Linked DNA regions of Homo sapiens: all the other regions are linked to region 1. Evidence: promoter capture Hi-C in 16 types of primary human blood cells and fetal thymus (Javierre and others, 2016). All regions are on one chromosome and are shown on one strand. The core of a region is centred on a gene start or on the middle of the fragment in contact, and the rest is flanking DNA. Distances in the headings are between cores, read along the strand shown. Region 1 holds the start of SYT17 (synaptotagmin 17). Region 2 overlaps TMC7 (transmembrane channel like 7). Region 3 overlaps SYT17 (synaptotagmin 17).

Evidence for each region. The method cuts DNA at HindIII sites, captures the fragments that hold promoters and counts their contacts. A CHiCAGO score of 5 or more calls a contact.
Region 2: a fragment that was not itself captured here is called in contact with the fragment with the promoter of SYT17 in region 1 in 1 of 17 cell types (monocytes); the score reaches 5.9 in monocytes.
Region 3: a fragment that was not itself captured here is called in contact with the fragment with the promoter of SYT17 in region 1 in 1 of 17 cell types (M1 macrophages); the score reaches 5.1 in M1 macrophages.

The regions. Positions count from the first base shown.
Region 1 is chr16:19,166,621-19,170,483 of GRCh38, reverse strand. It overlaps SYT17 (synaptotagmin 17), which reads right to left and starts at 2,244. Exons shown (of 8, transcript NM_016524.4): 1 at 1,823-2,244. The coding sequence starts at 1,837. RefSeq lists an enhancer at 1,660-2,407 and a silencer at 2,599-2,848. The HindIII fragment of the contact is 5,386 bases long and covers 998-3,863 here.
Region 2 is chr16:19,058,541-19,062,403 of GRCh38, reverse strand. It overlaps TMC7 (transmembrane channel like 7), which reads right to left. Exons shown (of 16, transcript NM_024847.4): 15 at 2,910-2,988; 16 at 1-626. The coding sequence ends at 561. Among named protein-coding and RNA genes, the nearest start is that of COQ7, 7.1 kb to the left of the region's middle. The HindIII fragment of the contact is 3,685 bases long and covers 295-3,863 here.
Region 3 is chr16:19,260,368-19,264,230 of GRCh38, reverse strand. The region is part of intron 7 of SYT17 (synaptotagmin 17); the gene reads right to left. Among named protein-coding and RNA genes, the nearest start is that of CLEC19A, 23 kb to the left of the region's middle. The HindIII fragment of the contact is 587 bases long and covers 1,675-2,261 here.

The DNA of each region.
Region 1 (3,863 bases), core at 995-3,494:
CGATGGAAGAGAACCAATTCACACCAGAAAGAAAGAGGAAGAAAGACAACCCATGCATTCTAAACAGAGGTTGGCAAACTAAGGCTCGCAGATCAAAACCAGCCCCGCAGCCTGTTTTGCTACAGCCCTTGAGCTAAGAATAATTTGTGAGTTTTTAAAAGGTTGAAAAAAAAAAAAGATGAATGCCTCTTGACTCGTGCAAAGTATACAAAATTCAAATTTTGGTGCCTGCAAATAAAGTTTTATTGGAACACAGCCACGCCCACTCATTTACTACTGTCCATAGCAGTTTTGGTGCTATAGTCAGAGTGGAATAGTTGTGACAGAGACCATGTGAGCCTCCAAGAGAAAAAAAATAGTATCTGGCACTTTACAGGACAACAAAGTTTAACACCTTGTTCTAGAAGGAAAACCAACATCACTGGGTCATCGCCATATGAGATGCTTAACATATCTACCACAGTCCCCTCTTGAGATCCCACCTTGACCCCTAAGCAGCTATGTGGCCTTGGGCAAGTCACTTAATTTCTCTGTGCTGAAGGCGGCCATTAAGAACTCCAGGAGCCGGTAATCATGTTCATTTCTCACTAAATTGCGCACCCAGAGGGGCAGGAACTGTGCTGTTTTCATCACTGTATCCCCAGTGCCAGCACTTAGTAGGCGGTCGCCCAAGTGTTTGTTGGGCGACTACTCAATAGCCCCTGGACAACATTCAGCACACAGTGGGTGGACAGTAATGTGACCTTCATTGAACTTGAAGAGAAACTGGCGATTCCACGAAAGGGAAGCCAATTCAGGGAATCTAAGGCAGGAGATGAATGGAAGAGGCTCCGCCAGGTGACACAGCACAGAGTTCCCGGCAGGCTGAAGCGTCTGAGGACACGATGAGGGGATATGTGACCCAGAGGGGAATGGGAGGACCAGCAGCACCCCCAGCTGTGGCTGAGGGGACAAGATGTGAGCCAAGATGCACCCTGGACGTGGGAGTCTGTAAGCTTCTCTGCCCAGCTCAGAGGCGCCAGCGCCAGAAGCAAGCAGCTCAACGGGTCTCACTGCGGGTCTGCCTGCTTGACCTTGGCGCTGACCTGCGGTCACTTCCCTTCTTGCAGAGGAGAAAGGTCTTTTCACCAAGAAGCCCGGCCCACCCCTCCGCCCCCTCCCCCCAAAAAAGGCTGCTTAGAAATTATTTCAGAATTATTTCAGCCCAAGGATTCTTGGGGGACGTTTCTTCAAGGTGAAGAGGGTCCACATCTCCCAGACCCCAATGCAGCGGAGTAAAGTAACAGGCTCCCTTCTCTTCACCAGCGCGCCTCTGGCCTCTGGGTGTCCCCCACCCCTCAGCACCCAGTGCCCAGGAGAGACGACGTCCTTGTCCCTCCTGGTCGGAACAGCTGCCTCAGGCTCGCTCCGCCGGCCAATTAGCCGGAGCCGTCACCACGGCAACGGCAGCTGGCGGGCCGGGTGGCTGGCGCGCCCCGGGCCGCCCTCCCCACGGCCCCTCCCCTGGGGTGGGGTGCCAAGGAGAGGGAGGGGGCAGGGGAGAAGAAAAGTCCGCCCCACCCCCCATTCCCTCCCCAAGAGGCAAGGGCGCGCGTTGCAGAGTACACATAGGACCCTCCATCCCGGGGTTTGGGGGTCCCCAGTCTCTCCTCCCGGGGCGCACCCCTGTTGCTGCACAGGTTGCCCGCGCACGGGCACCCTTTTTCTCGAAGCAAGTTTGTGGGAGCCTAGCCGTGGGCCCTCCCTTCCGCGCGCTCCCAGCCGGAGGGGGCGCGGCACCCCCTACCCGCACCCCGGACCTTGCCCCCAGCCTCAGCCCTACCTGGATGTACGCCATTTTCGCCCGCGCGCACTCACTCCGGCCCGGGCATGGCGCCGCCACGGCCACTTTGCCCTCGCCAACAGCGGAGGGGGAAGAAAGCAAAGGGGGAAAGGAAGAAAAAGGCAGCCGGTGGCCCCAGACGTGACTGGCGTGGCTGATGAGCGGCGCCCGCCCCTCCGCCGGCCGCCCCGTCCTTGCCTTTCCCTGCGTTCCGGCTCTCGGAATCGGGGCCGCCTCCCCGGTTCGGAGATATCGGGCGCCCAGGGCCCCCGCCTCGGCCTCCCTCGCTGTCCCGTGCTCCCCACCGAGGCGCTCCCCAGGCTGGAATAAGGCCGGGGCGCCTGGGCAAGCAGCCCGGGGCAGCTGCGGGGACTGCAGCGACCCCAGCGCAGGCGGGGCCGGAGACGCCGGGGCCGGAGCGCGCAGGAGGCGGGGGAGGGGATGGGAATGGGGAAGGGGGTGGGAGGGGGCGGTACACAGGTCAGCCCATCCTGCTGGCACGGGGGCTGGCACCTACCGAAAGCAGCGCCCCCGGGGCAGCCGTGGAGCCGAGGGGACACAGTGCAGCCTGCCATGAAGTCTGCAGCAGGGAGGGTCCTTCCCATCCAGCCCTCTCCCCAAACTGGGTTGGAAAAACTTTATTCCCGCCCCACCCGACGCGCCTAGCACGGTTGCGGTGAGGCTTGCAGAGGCTGCGTGGATGGGAGCCTCAAGTTAAGGTGGGCGTAGGGCGTCCCAAACGGAGGTGCTGCGTCCAGGGCTGCAGGGGGCGCGCGGAGAGAGCGGAGCGCCCCTTTACCCTAAACCTGCCGGAGTTGCGCCCTGGACGCAACAGGTCTAGCGCGGGGCGGCCCGGCAGCGCCACCCAGCGTCGTGCCCGGCCTCGTGCGCTCCTCTGCCCACGGGCAGGCGGCCGCCAGCGAGCGTGCGCCCCGGGGCGTGTCCACCGCCGCCCTCCTGCCTGTCCTCGTGGCTGGGGCGCCCTGGACCCAGAGGCCTCCATCAAACCTCCCAGCCCAAGGCCTCTGGCTCTCCACTCAGAGATTCGAGGTGGAACATTGCCCTCCGCTGGATTTCTTATTTTATTTTATTTTATTTTATTTTATTTTATTTTATTTTATTTTATTTTATTTTATTTTATTTTTGACACAGGGTGTCACTCTGTCACCCAGGCTGGAGTGCACTGGGGTAATCTTGGCTCACTGAAACCTCCGCCTCCCAGGTTCAAGGGATTCTCGTGTCTCAGCCTCCCGAGTAGCTGGGACTACAGGCACATGCCACCACGCCCACTAATTTTTGTATTTTTGGTAGAGAAAGGGTTTCACCATGTGGGCCAGGCTGGTCTCGAACTCCTGGCCTCAAGTGATCTGCCTGCCTCGGCCTCCCAAAGTGCTGGGATTAGGGGCGTGAGCCACTGCGCCGGGCCGGTTTTCTTTTTAATATGCCCAGTCATCTCCTGTTGCCGGACACCAGCTTATCAGCATTTTAATTTTAACCTCCCAGTGCCTCTTTTTCCTCAGTAAAAACAGGAGAAAATCTCCACCCTGCCTATCCTCCAGGGCTGATTTGTGGGAATAAATGAGAAAATGAATATGGGAGTAACAAAAGATGGATATTCAGATGCATATATTTTTTGTCTAAAAATCTAGCAGACCTATACATTTTTTAGTATGATATATTTAGTTTGTAGCATATAGCACGTAACGCATATTGAGTGCTTATGATTCTGCAGGCATACACGCCTCAACACTTCACAAGCGTTATTTCATTTCAACCTGCAGTACCTTGATCACTCCTATTAGGTAGCACCTGTCCAGCCAGAGTAGGCACTCAGTAATTGTTTTTGTTGCCTTATTCACTCTGCTTCCTGAGGGAGGTGCTATGATTATCTCCAATTTATGAGGGACTGCAGCCCAGACAGGTAAAGCCTCTATGAAGGCCTGACAGCTGGTAGCCCAGGGCACTGACATTTGAACCCACAAGTCCAGCAGTGAACCCAAAGTGGCCACTCCTAACCACTTTGTGGTATTTATCCACAATC
Region 2 (3,863 bases), core at 888-3,387, 110 kb after region 1:
CGCCTGCCTCGGCCTCCCAAAGTGTTGGGATAACAGGCGTGAGCCGCTGCGCCCAGCCACATGTTTTGTGAAATAAAGGCACATGCATTAAAAATTGTAAGCACAGGAAAACAACCCTAAAAAATGTGGACGTGTGTGTTTAAGAAACCAGCCTCCAATTCTGTTTGTTATACACTCATGGGCTGGTCTGATTAACAGGCTGAGCTTCAGTCCACAACCCAAAACACTTGTGCACATAAACTCGTGGCTCAAATACTAAACTACCGTCTCCGCTCTTTCATTCTTGTAAAAGCTTGAATGGCTTGTTGGTTTTTGGTAGAGTTGTCACAGAGTGGCCGGTCTGCAGGCAAAGCCTTGGGTTTCCCCTGCTTTTCTAAGTCACTGAAGCCCTAATTAAGGGCTGGGTTAGGTAAACACAGCTGCACATATGGAAAAGCCTAAACTCAAGAAAAATATATTTTTAAATGTCCACTCAAAACCCAGGTAGACTCTGTAGGCTCAGCAGAATCACTAGGTCAGCTTAGAAGCAACAGGCAGCACCATCTTCACGCTCAGTCTAGTTAGTTCCTCATGTCCCTTTGGGCTTCTGTTAGTTTCTGGATTAGGTAGCACTTGTCACGACTTTCCTAAAAAATAATAAGTTCACATGTACATTTAATATATTTGGAAACAAATACCATCATTACCTACCAGACTGAGGGCTGAGGATTCTAACCACTGGACTATTGTAATGGCCTCTCATCTGGTCTGTCATTGTGTCTGCTCCACAGCCCCTTGTCCACAAAGCAGCCGATCCTTTTTTTAAAAAATGCACAGTACAGCTGGACACGGTGGCTCATGCCTGTAATCCCAGCACTTTGGGAGGCCGAGGCAGGTGGATCACCTGAGGTCAGAAGTTTGAGACCAGCCTGACCAATATAGTAAAACCCCATCTCTACTAAAAATACAAAAATTAGGCCGGGTGAGGTGGCTCACACCTGTAATCCCAGCACTTTGGGAGGCCAAGGCAGGTGGATCACCTGAGGTCAGAAGTTTCAGACCAGCCTGACCAACGTGGTGAAACCCCACCTCTACTAAAAATACAAAAATTAGGCCAGGCGAGGTGGCTCACGCCTGTAATCTCAGCACTTTGGGAGGCCGAGGCAGGTGGACCACCTGAGGTCAGGAGTTCGAGACCAGCCTGGCCAACAAGGTGAAACCCCGAAACCCCGTCTCTACTAAAAATACAAAAAATTAGCCGGGCGTGGTGGCAGGTGCCTGTAATCCCATCTACTTGGGATGCTGAGGCAGGAGAATTGCTTGAACCCAGGAGGTGGAGGTTGCAGTGAACTGAGATCACACCACTGCACTCCAGCCTGGGCGACAGAGTGAGACCCTGTCTCAAAGGAAAAAAAAAAAAAAAAAGACTGGCCATCATGGTGAAACCCCTTCTCTACTAAAAATACAAAAGTTAGCCGGTTGTGATGGTGGGTGCCTGTAATCCCAGCTACTTGGGAGGCTGAGGAAGGAGAATCAATTGAACCCGGGAGGTGGAGGTTGCAGTGAGCTGAAATTGCGGCACTGCACTCCAGACTGGGTGACAGAGCAAGACTCTGTCTCAAAAAAAAAAAAAAATGCACAGTAGACTCTTACAAACCCTTCAGCAGCTTCCCATCCCACTCAGAATAAAACTCTAAACAGAGCCCTCAAGGCACTGTGACTTGATGACTCTGGTTGCTATTACAATATCACCTTGCCTCTTCCCATCACTCACCACCCTGTGGCCACACTGTCCCCTCCCTCCTGTCCCCCTGAAGTGCCTGGCTCATTTCTTTACTGTGCTCTTTGCCTCTTACTTTCATCCTTAAATAGGACCTCAGATAATGGGCTCCTCTCTCTATTATTCAAGTCTCAGCTAGGGTCCAGGCATAGTGGCTCATGCCTGTAATCCCAGCACTTTGGGGAACTGAGAGGGGACAATCACTTGAGCCCAGGAGTTCAAGACCAGCCTGGGCAACATAGGGAGACCTCATGTCTATAAAAAATTTAAAAATTAGCCAGGCATGGTGATGCACGCCTGTAGTCCCAGCTACTTGGGAGGCTAAGGTGGGAGGATGGCTTGAGACCAAGAGTTTGAGGCTGCTGTGAGCTATGACCACACAATCGCACTCCAGCCTGGGCGAGAGAGTGAGACCCCGTCCTGAATAAAAAAATAAAAAAAAATCACCTCCTCAAAGAAGCCTTCTACAGCCGCATCTGCAGTAACTGATAGCCCGCTTGTCACTCTACCTTGTTTTTATTGTCTTCATAGAAGCTATAATTAATCAGCATTTATCTTATTAACTACCCAGCAGCTTTGTCTCTTGTTCACCAAAGCGTCCCAGCACCCAGCATAGTACAAGGCACAGAGTAGGTACTTAATACACATCTTTTTTTATTTTTATTTTTAAGATGGAGTCTCACTCTGTCACCCAGGCTGGAGTGCAATAGCGCAATCTCAGCTCACTGCGACCTCCACCTCCTGAGTTCAAGGGATTCTCCTGCCTCAGCCTCCCAAGTAGCTGGGATTACAGGTGCCCACCACCACGCCCAACTACTTTTTGTATTTTTAGTAGAGACGGGGTTTCACCATGTTGGCCAGGCTGGTCTTGAACTCCTGAGCTCAAGTAATCTGCCTGCCTCGGCCTCCCAAAAGTGCTGGGATTACAGGCATGAGCCACCACATCCCCCTTAATACACATCTTGAAGGAATGGATGAATCAGTGAATTAATGAAGCTGGACGCGGCTGGGCCTCAAGGCAGAGTTTTGGGGAGGTGGTGGTGAGAGAAGGCTGCAGTAATTTCACTCCCTCCCAGGAAAACAGCACTTTCCTTGCAGTGTCCTGGGTAAATGTCCCCAGCCATGACCCTCTGGAGCTATGCTTCCTTACCAGGGATAGCTGCTCTCGGAGCTGGATGACCACCCGTTTGTGTGCTCCAGCTAAGGCAATGAAGTAAAACATGATGAGGCTGCAACACAAGACAGACAGGTCACAAGGGAGTCTGGATCATCTGAAGGCCAATAGAAAAATAACCCAACATATTTTTCCTTGGAACAGTTTTACTCTTGTTAGAAAAGAAGGCTGGGCATGATGGCTCATTTTATAATACCAGTGCTTTGCCCAGGCAGAAGGATCACTTAAGGCTGGGAGTTTGAGACCAGCCCAGGCAACATAGGGAGAGCCCCACCTCTAGAAAAATAAAATATGGCCGGGCGCAGTGGCTCACACCTGTAATCCCAGCACTTTGGGAGGCCGAGGCAGGCGGATCACCTGAGGTCAGGAATTTGAGACCAGCCTGACCAACATGGTGAAACCCCGTCTCTACTAAAAATACAAAAGTTAGCTGGGCGTGGTGGTGGACGCCTATAATCCCAGCTACTCAGGAGGCTGAGACAGGAGAATCCCTTGAACCCAAGAGGCAAAGGTTGCAGTGAGCTGAGATCGCATCACTGCACTCCAGCCTGGGCGGCAGAGCAAGCCTCCGTCTAAAAAAAAGGAAAAGAAAATGTAAAATTAGCCAGACATGGTGGCGTGAGCCTGTAGTCCCCAGCTACTCAGGAAGCTAAGGTGGGAGAATCTGAGCCCAGAAGTTCAAGGCTGCAGTGAGCTATGATCACATTACCATACTCCAGACTGGGCAACAGAGCCAGACCCTGTCTCCACAAAAAATAAAGAAAACCCTCATCTCTTCCAAGCAGAGGGTATAAGAAACAGCTACTGAAGTTTTTATTTGGCAGTGGCAGCAGAATCTGACTTATGCCTTGCTTTTTACTTTTAATATTAAAATTTGCAGATGTTCGCCTTGTACATACAGAATGACAGAAAGAGAGAGAATGACATGGT
Region 3 (3,863 bases), core at 719-3,218, 94 kb before region 1:
AATGCCATAAACTGGGTGGCTTATAAACAACAAAAACTTATTGCTCACAGTTCTGGAGGCTGGGAAGTTCAAGATCAAGCCACTGGCAAATTCGGTGTCTGGTGAGAAGCTGCTTCCTCATAGGTGGTATCTTCTCACTGAGTCCCCACATGGTGGAAGGGACAGGCTAGTTCTCTGGGGCATCTTCTATAAGGGCACTAATCCCAATTATGAGGGCTCCAACCTTCATGACCTAATCATCTCCCAAAGGTCCCGCCTCCTAATGCCATCACTTTGTGGGTTAGGAATTCAACATACAAATTTGGCAGGGTGGGGGACAACTATTCAGACCACAGCAGCTGAATAATTTGGAGGCCATGTGGCTCTCAAAGCCTCACATATCTGCTATCTGTCTGGTTCATCCATGTTGTAGTGCTACTTTTTATGGCCAGCTAACGTTCCATTGTATGGATATGCCATGTTTTGCTTATCTGTTCATCAGATGATGGACATTTGGGTTGTTTCCACATTTTGACTATTATTATGGATAATGCTACTGTAAACATTTATGTCCAAGTTTTTTTTTTCTTTTCTTTTTTTTTTTTTTTTTTGAGTTGTAATTTCACTGTTGTCACCCAGGCTGGGATGCAGTGGCGTGATCTCGGCTCACTGCAACCTCTGCCTCCCGGGCTCAAGTGATTCTCCTGCCTCAGACTCCCAAGTAGCTGGGTACAGGTGCCCACCACCATGCCTGGCTAATTTTTGTATTTTTAGTAGAGACAGGGTTTTGCCACATTGGGCAGGCTGGTCTTGAACTCCTGACCTCAGGTGATCTGCCCACCTCGGCCTTCCAAAATGCTGGGATTACAGGCATAAGTCACCATGGCTGGCCTATGTACCAAGTTTTTAAGGTCATATATTATGATCCATTTATATGAAATGTCCAGAATAGGCAGATCTTTAGAGACAGAAATTACCATTAGTGGTTATCAAGGATAGAGGAAAGAGGGAATGGGGTGTGATAGCTAATTGGCACAGGGCTCCTTTTTGGGGTGATAAAAATGTTCTGGAATTAGATAGTGGTGTTGGTTGCACAATCTTGAAAATATACTAAAAAGCACTGAATCGTATACACCAAAAGGGTGAGTTTTAAGTTATGTGAATTTTATCTCAATTAAACAAATTGCCAAAAGGGAATACAAAAAAAAAAAAAAGATTATCTGACTCCTTATAGAAAAGTTTGCTGACCCCTGCACCAGGGCATTGTTTATAAGAATGAAAAACGGGAAATGGCAAGACTGTCCCTGAGGGAGTGTAGCTGGGGCTGTTGGTGCCCTGCCTACCCCTCAGCCCACCTTGGAGGCTACTCATGGTTTCTATAGATAGTGTCCTTCCTCAAGCACCTGCAGCTTCCTGCCTGAGCCATGCCAGCTTGTCTGTGCTAACTGTGATTTATGGTGAGGACCTTGGGCCACTCAACATTAGCTGGACCTCTGCAAGCTACCTCTGCAAGGAGGCTCAGCTACCCAGATGGTCAGCCATGACTATATGACCAACGTCCTCTAACTATGCTGGACACCAAGGCTCAGGTGAGTCTTCTTGGGTGGCAATACCCTAAGTGTGTTGTCACACATCCTTGCAAGGAGAATTAGGCACTGCTCGTATAACTCCAGTTGAGGAGAACAACTGGAAGCTTGCATCTGGTCTCTCTTGGACTTTTTCCTATGACAAAGAGGACTCTTTCCCCTTTCTTAGTCTGCTGGGCTGCTATAACAAATTACCATAAACAGGGAGGCTTATAAACAACAGGAATTTATTTCCTAATGGTTCCAGAAGCTAGGAAGTCCCAGATCAAGGTACCAGCAGATTCAGTGTCTGGTGAGGGCTTGCTCTCCTTCATAGGTGGTGCCTTCTCATGCAATAGAAGCAGCAAGACAGTTCTCTTGGGTTTCTGTTATAAGGGCACCAACCCCATTCATGAGGACAGAGCCTTCATGGTCTAATCACCTCCCACATGGGGATTAGGATTCAACATAAGAATTTTGGGGGAACAAAACATTCAGACCATAGCAGCAATCTTTCACTTTGCTGATTTTGGTCTGTATGCTTTTTCTGTAATAAACTGTAACCATGAGAATAACAGTTTTTCCAAGTTCTGTGGTGAATCATTGGACCTGAGGGTGATTTTGAAGACCCCCTATACTGCAGATATCCACTCGCCAAACATCCTTGATTTGTTTTCCTCCTTTTCCTGTCTTATTTGCCATTCCCTTATTCAAGCTTCCTGAGGTCACCTCCTAGTAGCCTACTTGAGCTCATGTCACTAAGTTTGTCTTTGGGAGGTACCTAGAATAAGACTGGAGGAAATGAATTAAATAACTTCTGAGATAATAATACCACGGAAATCCATGTTGCCATTAAAAATGAGACAGACTTATCTATATGAAATGGAAAAATCTCCAACACATATTGCTAGGAGACAAAAGCACATTACAAAACAGTATATGTAAGCACAATCTTTTTGTTAAAAAGAATGTTAATATACCTGAAGAAAACAATATGGATGTTCACCACTGTTCAGAGTGGCTCTCTCTGGGAAGGGGGAAACAGAGGAAAATGTCCACTTTCTGTATCAATAAGTATGTACAGTTTGAACTTCTTACAGAAAGTACATATTATTTTGGAAAGAAAACAAAGGAAAAATAAGTCACTGTTAGAGAATCCACAACTAAATCACCAGAAAGGATGAAAACTAAAAGGAAGTCTAATATCCTATGCTCCTCATCCCAATTTGTAAAGTAACTTGGCTGGTGAATCACTTGGCCCTTGAAAGGTGGGAGCGCTTGAGTGATTCAGCCTTTCTGATGGGAGGCAGTTCCTGCCATGGCCATCTGAGTTAATTAGCAGGCAGTGTAAATTGCAAATCACTTGGTAAAGTTATGGCAATCTTAACAGTCTTAAAAAAATTTAAAATGCAAATTATAATAAAGTGAAGCTGAAGATAAGTAATAACTTCTATTAGAAAGTTGCCTGGGAGAATATCAAGATTGCCATCACTGTAAATTCTAAGTGTGTTGGAGAAAATAGAGAATTAAAACTAGACATGTCAGGGGCCAGGTGCAGTGGCTCACACCTGTAATCCCAGCACTTTGGGAGGTCAAGGTGGGAGGATCTCTTGAGCCCAGGAGTTCGAGACCAGCTTGGGCAACATAGTAAGACTCTCTTTCTACAATTTTTTTTTAAAGACTAGACATGTGGAATCCAGAAAGGGGCTTAGGGACAGTGGGTCAGATAACCCAGCCCTCTCCATGTTATAGGTAAGGAAACCAAGTCACATAGCTAATTGGTGATAAAATTTGCAGTATTTGAATAACCTGTGAATGAAGCCAATTCCTTATAACCACATTCCTAAATTCCTTCTCTTTAGAAACATCCATAACTAAAAATTTTGTTGTAAAGTACCTCCACCAAATATTTCTACTGATGGTTATGGGGGACTCTTTTAAATGTAGTCACTAATATATTTCTGGATATTGTAAGCCAAAAATACAATTCTAAGCCCCCTAACCATCTGAATGGGCCCCTCCTCTTGGTCAAGGGCATTCCAAAGGTGACCTGAAAAGCTAGTTCAGGCTGTGGTGGGAAGGGGAAGTCAGACATGCCAACATTAACATGAAGACAGATCTTAAGACTGATAGAACGAATTCTTTTTTTTTTCTTTCCTTTTTTTTTTTTTTTTTTTTTTTTTGAGACAAGGTCTCTCTCTGTTACCCAGGTGCAGTGGCATGATCTCAGGTCACTGCAACTTCTGCCTCCCAGGCTCAAGTGATCCTCCTACCTCAGCTTCCCAACTAGCTGGGACCACAGGTGCACACCACTATGCC